Regions from separate parts of the Homo sapiens genome. Here region 1 is linked to region 2. The links are contacts of gene promoters, found by promoter capture Hi-C in blood cells and fetal thymus (Javierre and others, 2016). All regions are on one chromosome and are shown on one strand. The core of a region is centred on a gene start or on the middle of the fragment in contact, and the rest is flanking DNA. Distances in the headings are between cores, read along the strand shown.

Evidence for each region. The method cuts DNA at HindIII sites, captures the fragments that hold promoters and counts their contacts. A CHiCAGO score of 5 or more calls a contact.
Region 1: a contact is called between a fragment that was not itself captured here and the fragment with the promoter of DTD2 in region 2, in 1 of 17 cell types (naive CD4 T cells). The highest score is 5.8, in naive CD4 T cells.

Annotation. Positions count from the first base shown.
Region 1 is chr14:31,926,347-31,930,739 of GRCh38, reverse strand. No RefSeq gene overlaps it. Among named protein-coding and RNA genes, the nearest start is that of LINC02313, 16 kb to the left of the region's middle. The HindIII fragment of the contact is 1,002 bases long and covers 1,545-2,546 here.
Region 2 is chr14:31,455,853-31,460,373 of GRCh38, reverse strand. It overlaps DTD2 (D-aminoacyl-tRNA deacylase 2), which reads left to right and starts at 2,868. Exons shown (of 3, transcript NM_080664.3): 1 at 2,868-3,091. The coding sequence starts at 2,981. RefSeq lists enhancers at 2,704-2,883, 3,024-3,233, 2,678-3,263, 3,264-3,849. The HindIII fragment of the contact is 653 bases long and covers 2,779-3,431 here.

The sequences.
Region 1 (4,393 bases), core at 796-3,295, 470 kb before region 2:
TAATATATTACAGCACTTAGCACAGTACTGGGCAAATAGTAAGGTCAATAAACATTAACTGTGATTGTTAAAAATGTGACTAAGATTACCCAGTGAGTAAGCTGGGGAGCCAGTGGAGAACAAAATAAGCTGAGGCCTCTGGGGATTCATTTGGTGAAGTTTTGTCATAGGGAAGAGGTTCCTACTGACATCAGGAAGTAGAACCAGGCTGGGTGAGTTGGTTCATGCCTGTAATCCCAACAATTTGGGAGGTCAAGGTGAGAGAATCACTTGAGGCCAGGAGTTTGAGACCAGCCTGGGCAACACAGAGAGACCTCTTCTCTTAAAAAGAAAAAAAATTAAATTAGCCAGACATCATGGCATGCACCTTCCAACATTGTGGCCTGCACCTTCCAAGCCCTAGCTACTTGGAAGGCAGAGGCAGGAGGATCACCTGAGCCCAGGAATTAGAGGCTGCAGTGAGCTATGCTCTCACCACTGTACTCTAGCCTGGGCAACACAGCAAGACCCCATGTCTGAAAAAAAAGTAGAACCAGACCCAGTGAACAGAAGTGTAACAGGGTATCTGGTAGGAAGCAACCTGAAATTAAATAGCTGGGTAATGACAGTTACTTTTCTGTCTAAGTGGACACCGATCTTCCCCATTTGGCAAAGAGTCATTAAGGGGCCACTCTTACTCATGATGCTGTGAGATATTTAACACTCTGTTGCCCTGGAGAGGACAGTCTAGTAGAAGTTATATGTGGCCTGACAAAGCCTGCCCCTCCAATACCCCTGTTATGCAGAGCTGGTCTCTGATGAAAGGCTGAACAATTGCAGGGAGGTCAAGGAGCCTCCTAGCAGGAGACATTATTAGAACCTTCCTGATGGGTTAGGATAGACCCCACAAGAAGCCTGGAGGAGAAAAGGACATCAAAAATTCCAAAGGGGAAACTCACCATGAGAAAAGGGACAGTCTAGACTGATGATCCAGTGTTACCAGCAGGATTAAGGGTACAGAGGTGTGAGAAGGCTGGTCCCATGTATCCCATGGCTGAGACTAGAAACTCTTCTGGTTGTGGGTGTGATTTGAGAACAATGACTGAGCACTATGAACTAAAAGAGCTGTAATCTTGAAGTCCAAGTCCTAGGTCCATGAAGAAGACCTAAGTCAGTGAGAGAATCCCTGCAGCAGTGGGGAAGTGGCTGCTGGCCTGTGTAGAGCCAGTTTTCAATATTACCCCACAGGAAGAAGCAGCAATATTGGCAGACCACTTGGACTGCTCAGTTTTTTCTCCGCTTGCTTTTAGAACTGGGACTTAGCCCTTTTGGAATGAATGAAGACCAGAGTGTTCTTGGCAATCTTGGATGTTTAGAAGAGGTGAGAGGCGATAGGGCCTTAAGAGAGAGATACTGGGCTTCCTATTAGTATTATCAGGAAGATGTTCTGGCAACTAATAGGGGAATAAAAGATATATCTATTATTTGTACTCCCCAGGTCATTAAAGTGGGTTATATCATGGGTTATATCAGTTGTATATAACTTAATAAAACTGAAATAAGCTTAATGTTAAGGACTTTCTAAAAATCAGGATTAATAATAATAATAGCAGCTAGTATTTATTTGGTGCTTACTATATGCCAAATTCTACCTCCCTTAGCTCATTCATCATCACAAAACCCTATGAATGTGAAAGCAACACAATAGTACATGGATGAATAAATGGATAAACAAAATATGGCATATATATATATATATATATATATACACACACACACACACACACCACATACAAAGGAATACTATTCAACCTCAAAGAGGAGGGAAATTCTGACATATGCTACAAAATAGATAAACTTGGAAGACATTATGCTAAGTGAAATGAGCCAGTCACAAAAAGACTATATTTTCCATGTATATAAGGCATTTAGAGTATAAAAAATCATAAAGACAGAAAGTAGAATGGTGATTCCCAGTGGCTGGGAGGAGGTAGAAATGGGAGTTATTGTTTAAGAGGTATAGAGTTTCCATGTTACAAGATGAAAAGAGTTACGGAGATGGATGGTGGTAATGATTGCAGAACATTATGAATATATTTAATATTACTAGACTGTTCACTTAAAATTGAGTAAGATGGTACATTTTATACGTATTTTACCACAGTTAAAAAAAAAATGTTAGGGGAAAAAACCGGCTATGAGGTAGCAGTTGTTTCTATCACCATTTTACAGATGAGGAAACTGAGGCAGAAAGAGGCTAAAGTATCTTGTTCAAGGTCACACAGTAGACATGGGTGGAACAAGAATTACATGACAGGGCCTCCTGATCACAGAACCTATTCTTTTACCTCTGTCCTCTTCTCCCTTTCTGTAAAGATGGAGAGATACAATGCCCCATGGGGATGCAGTTGATGGGATTAGAATAGATGGGTGGTTGGACTATAACACCTACAAAATCCATTTCTTTGCTGCAGCACTTCCTTCCAACCTTTAGAATTTGTGTGCTTCATTTAGCTCTACAGAATTACTATCAAAATGAACTGTTTGCTATGGTTGGAAAACAAGCTTAGGAACTACTGCTAAGGAATATAAAGATAAACCACATACTGAGATGCATTCTAAGTCTACAGGTCAAACCTATTACAACAATCTTTAGAGAAACAGCATTTGTTCATCCAACAAATATTTATTACATGCCTTCTATATGTATTGTTCTAGGTGCTTGGTATATAGCAGTGAACTAAATGGACAAAGATCTCTGCTTTTGTGGATTTTACAGTCTTGTGGAGGAGAGAAAATAAACAGTAAACCCAGTAACTCAGTAAATAATATAGTACATTAGGAGGCAATAAGTACTTGATCACAGCTGCAGTTTTAAATTAGGTTGGCAGGGGAGACCTCATTGAAAAGGTGACATCTAAGCAAAAGCTGAAGGTGTCAGAGGCAGCCACGTGTGAAGGAAGAACATTTCAGGCAGAAGAAATATCCAGGGCAAAGGCCTAAGACAAGAGCCTGTGCGGCTGGAGTTGCTACAGGGAGGCCCATGTGACTAGGGCAGAGATGGGGAGGGGGTGAGGAGTGTGAGGTCGGTGCAAGCAGTGAAGGAGGGGTTGATTATACAAGTCTTCCAGGCCACTGTAAAGACCGTGGCTTTACACTGAGTGAGATGGGGAAGCATTGCAGGGTTTTCAGCAGAGAAGTGACATGATCTGACTCACACGGGATATATGAAAACACACCGTATTTAATATTGTTTTGACTTGAAAAGATTCTTTATCACTGAGATCACTGCTCATGAGGAAATGGAGCTTACATCTAAGCAAATGTCATCACTATGTGCTGAGAACCCCACTGATCCTGTGAGTGCAGTGGAAGGAGAAGGAGTTGGGGGAGTTGAGTAAAAACAGTTGTGTCATTTTTTTCAAAGAGCTGCTGGGAGGAATAACTAATAACAATAGCTGTAAAGGTCACTGCAAATATTAAGTGCTATCAAATGCTAACTATTATTTAAAAATAGAAAGCCTGTCATTATTCTTTGGCCCAGGAGTCAGGACCTCTGGCAGCCTGCACGCCTCGGCCAGCCTGTTAATGTTTCAGTGCCTTTAAAGGACTTTCCCATCAGACTATGTTATCTGATGGCTGTGTCTCCCATCTACAGCTATGGTGGGAGGAACTGAGCTATTTACCGCATATACTCTGCAACAAAACACAATCCTGAGGGTAGGGGTTGATGAGCATTTGTTTTTTGTTTTTGCTTTTTTAAAAATCATTAATTCTTAGGCTGCACTTACAAAACTCCCTGAAAGCACTGAACATTTGAATGAATGACATGGGTTTACATGTAAAAAGTTCTTGCAGCGAGTTGTTTACACCAATCTATTGGGTCATGGAAATTTTGCTCAAGATTTGTTTGTGTGGGAATAACACTGAAATACTAGCTTGTCGGAGCCAGCTTTGAAACTAACACAATGAATAGCTATTGTTCTGACAGAATATCCGGCAGCTCATGTCTACATACACTGAAGATGACCTTCCTCTTTAGAAATAGTTCCAATCATTATATATATATTTTAAAGTGTTATTGGTGTACCCAATGTTCTAGGTGCCTGGGGAGAAGGGACATTGTATAAAGATATTTCAGTTTCTCTCCTAAAAGGATTCCACAGCTACTCTATTTGGTAAGTCAGGTTGCCAATATTACACATTCCTGGTATGAAAAGATATGTTACAGAGATAGAAAATAAAGAAAGGAAAAGGTAAGCTTGTCATTTAACACCTATTAAGTACCAGGTTCTATGTTATGATATCATTTCACTTCACCAGCACAACCTAATGAAAACAGATACTGTCCACCATTTTGCAGATGAGGGACTAAGACTTAGATTATGTCACTTGCTAACTTTAGTTAAGTAAC
Region 2 (4,521 bases), core at 1,619-4,118:
CATGTCATGGCAATATTTCTTGTTGTAAATGACTAAATTAGTATTCTGGTTCTACCCCAATCTAATGTGCATTTTAGTTAATGTTAACCAATTTCTCAGAACCTGGTTATTATTTTTTTTTTCAAAAAAAAATAAATCTCTGGGCTTTAAACTAGAAAAAAAAATATCTGGGCTTTAAACTAGAGGGCTAGATACTGTCTTCCCTAAGATAAGATACCTACCTCTTCCAGTTGCACTTGTTTTTTTTTGGTTTTTTTTTGTTTTGTTTTGTTTTGGTTTTTTTTTGAGACGGAGTCTCGCTCTGTTGCCCAGGCTGGAGTGCAGTGGCGCAGTCTCGGCTCACTGCAAGTTCTGCCTCCTGGGTTCATGCCATTTTCCTGCCTCAGCCTCCCGAGTAGCTGGTACTACAGGTGCCCGCCACCACGCCTGGCTAATTTTTTGTATTTTTTAGTAGAGACTAAAAATGGTTTCACCGTGTTAGCCAGGATGGTCTCCATCTCCTGACCTCGTGATCCACCCACCTCAGCCTCCCAAAGTGCTGGGATTACAGGCATCAGCCACCTCGCCAGGCCTGCACTTGTATTTATTAACATATCCTATATAAAGTCTCAGGTAAGAGGCTCAGCTGAGAGCTAAATCTGAGGAAAAGCTCTGCTTATCCCTAGAACTATGAAATAGATTATACTGCCCTTCCCTATCCTCTCCTATTTACAACCAGGAAGCTTAGCATCAACTCTAAGGAATCTTTTAGAAATGGTTCTCAAACTTTTCATGTTTGTGAAATACTTTGAATGCCAGAATTTAGGGCAGCCAACTTAAATGAATTAAAGAAGGTAAAATAACACTAAATTAGTTATTGTACCATCTCAGAGGACATAGAACCCATCCACAATTAATCCCCTATCCATATGGTACACTTTCAGCATTGTAGGTGTTTGAGAATTATCTCTGCTCAATGATTTCTCATACAATGACAAGGCAAAGCTCTCTCACATTCCAGTGAACCACCATCTTCTTGTAAAGCCAACTTAATGCTATGCTTTGCCTTTAGTTCCAACTTGAAACAAATTGTACAACCTACAGCACCTCAATACTACATACAATGAACATAATTGTTTTATAACAAAAATTAAAGTTATACATTTGTGAAAATTTTGCTGCATACTATATCATCTCAGCACTCCAGTTGAGAACCACTGTCTTACCTGTTTTCAATTTCCCCCATTGTGGCTTACTGACATAATTCTAGTTTCTTTATTTCTAATGCTTTAATTCACATTTTACTATTTTATTGCATGCATGTCCTTCCTTCTTAAATTATTTGCAGAATGAAACTAAGTGTTCAAAAAATAAAATACAGAAAGGAAATGCTGTCTTTGGTGGCCACTCTCTATAGCCTTCTGCAAATAGAAGTAAAAAATAAGTGAGCCACAGCCTATTACAGTACCTACAGCAATGTCCACGAGATCCTCACTCAATAGGAGGGTTTAAAGTAATTAGTGATTTTTGAGAAGCTAACCATTACCATCCATACTCCATCTATTCTACTCACAGGAAGGGTTTCCCAATTTGTTAAAGAAACCCTCTCTGTAGAAAGATCTCTGCGAACCACATAACCTATTCTCTATAGACCTCCCTATTTCCTGCAGCCACATACAAATGGACACCAAAGTCTTTTCTTATTCTGGGACATAGCTAATGGTTTGTATGTCAAAGTTTCTTTCAGGCCTGTAAAATCTGAATCTGAGAGCCGGAGAGAAAAGAGACTCAGTAGTTATAATGACATAAAGGTGCAGACATGAAGCAATTCAACTTGTCTGTGCTTTGCAGACAAATGTCAACAACTGTTGGAATCCCTGCAATGCAACAATCAGAGATCATGTGAGATTTTGCTTTCTGTTTTTACTAAAAGTGTAAACCTGGCTGCAAGATAACCAGCAAACAAGCAGCTTCGATTTTGTGTACAAAGGACTGTTGATTATGCATGGACTATTTTCTTCAGTCACACTACTTTGTATGGATAGCAACACTGTCAGTGATGTCATCTTTTTAAACAACAGATCCGAATGTATAGGCACATTGTGTCAACTGAGCCCAAATCAATGACCTGGGTAATGCAATCAGGGTAACACTATTATTCCTCATCTAAACCATCCAAGCCCATAGACAAATAAATGCTAATCTGATGCATGTTTAAGGAATACGTTACATGGGAAAGAAAATCAAGCCCTTGTTTAGTTTTATTTACATTCTAATATGTACTTCCAGAAAATGCATCACAGAATTTACGTCATATGCATCAGAATAAGCTGTTTTATTTTTGTATTAGTAGCGGGCTAAGTTATTAACAATCATACTTTCTTGGATAAGAACATTTTTAACAAGGATATCTTCTAAAGAATGTGTATTCGTATAGCATACCAATACCTTTTCACAACTGTGGAATCAGAATAATTTATGGCATTCCCGATAGAGGAGGCAGCATTGTTTTTATTGATTGGAATAAGGAAAATTTTGAAGGATGTATATATAGCTTTTAGTTCCATCTCCGCTTGCTTTATGATTCGATTATTTGTTTACTTACTTTCATATGGGCATAACATGAATTTAAATCAAGCAGATTTAAAATTTTTCAACAGTTGGAACCTAAGCTTTCTGAGGTGAAAAATGTTTCTTAAAAGGTTTGTAGGAAAGAGATTTAACGAGTCTTTTCAATCGTTTAATAAAAGTATACACTGAGCGCCTTCTACAGAGTTGGGCAGGTGCTGCCGAGAAGCTTAGCGCTACGCCGGCCTCCAAGACCGCACATCCGGGACATTCGAGAGTCAGTCCGAGGCCCCGCCCTCCTAAGGGCGGGGCCACTGGGCAATCGGCGCAGGCCCTTCGTCGTGCCCCGCCTCGTCTGCCCCGCCAGCGCGTCGAGGGAGGGGCCAGCGACACATGGCCTAGTAACTGTCCGGCCGCGGCGCTGGCTTAAGCCATGGCTGAGGGTAGCCGGATTCCTCAGGCCCGGGCGCTCCTACAGCAGTGCCTGCACGCCCGGCTGCAAATTCGCCCAGCCGATGGGGACGTCGCGGCCCAGTGGGTGGAGGTAACGTCAGCCCGGCAGCTCTCGTTATCCTCCGGCGTGCGGGGCGGTTTTTTCCGCGTTGTCTCGGTGACTCGTCCGCTCTGTGTCTCCCTCTGAGACCGGCGGTCCGGCCGCGGGGATACCGGGTCAGCTTGAAGCTGGCCGCGGTGGCCTGCCTGGCTGCGCTTGTCTTTTCGGTCCAGCATCACCGTTCCCCAGCGCCAGTTGTAGCACCCGAGAGGAAGAGCGTGTCTCCCTTCTTGGGGGGACCACAGGTATTTGAAACTGAGTTCGGTGAACTTCAGGCCTTACTGTCTCAGACCCCTTGCAGCTCGTGGTCTATGCTGGTCGGGGGCAAGCTTGTAGGTCAGGTTTGCTGCAAGAGTTCATGATCTGCTTTGACTTACGCCTCAGATCGCGTCGAATTCCCCCCTATGTTGACTTGGTCTTAGCATAGAAATGAGATTTCCTAAGAAACAATTCTATTTCAAGAAGCCTTTTAAAAGTTTTGACCAATTTCCAACTGAGAAACAAAGACCTCTACTTTTATAACAATGTTGCCTTATCAAACACATTTCTCCAAAGAATTTAAAACATTTATGTCACTATGAGTTCCTTCTACTTTCATACATACTTTACTTTTTAAGACCGCCTGCCCCCACTGCATACAAAAACAAATAAAATTTTCTTTAAGGCCTCTGACGTATTTTTGGAGTACGTTGAAATGTAAGAAAAAAATTAGTTCATAATTAAGACTTTTGTAGATACTCAGAAACTTCAGTGTAGCAAAATCTCATTCGCTCGCCTTTTCTGCTGAATTCGGTCCCAGATCTAGCATTACTTAAAACAATTTTAGTTATTATTTTACATTTATTTTATTTTTTATATTTTATTTATTTATATTTTATTTTATTTTTTGAGATGAATTCTCGATCTGTCGCCCAGGCTGGAGTGCAGTGGCACGATCTCGGCTCACTGCAACCTCCGCCTCCCGGGTTCAAGCAATTTTCCTTCCTCAGCCTCCCGAGTAGCTGGGACAACAGGCGCAAGCTACCACGCTAACTTGTATTTTTAGCAGAGACGGGGTTTCGCCATTTTGGCCAGGCTTGTCTGGAACTCCTGACCTCAGGTGATCCACCTGCCTCAGCCTCCCAAACTGCTGGGATTACAAGCCTGAGCCACCGCACCCCGCCTACTTATTGTAAATAGTACCCGTGAACTATATGATGTGTGGGTGATTATTCTAAAATCAGAATCTGTTGCCCTGTGCTAATTTGGAAATATAAGCATAGAAATTCCTGTATTCTTATCTCTCTCCTTTCCCAGAAATTCACTTTTCTTATTTCTTATTTTTGTCATGATTTTTTGTGAGGTCTTGATTTCCTTATTTGAAATTTTATTATTTTATTTTGCCATCCTATCTAAAGAATTAACCTGCCAGGCGCGGTAAT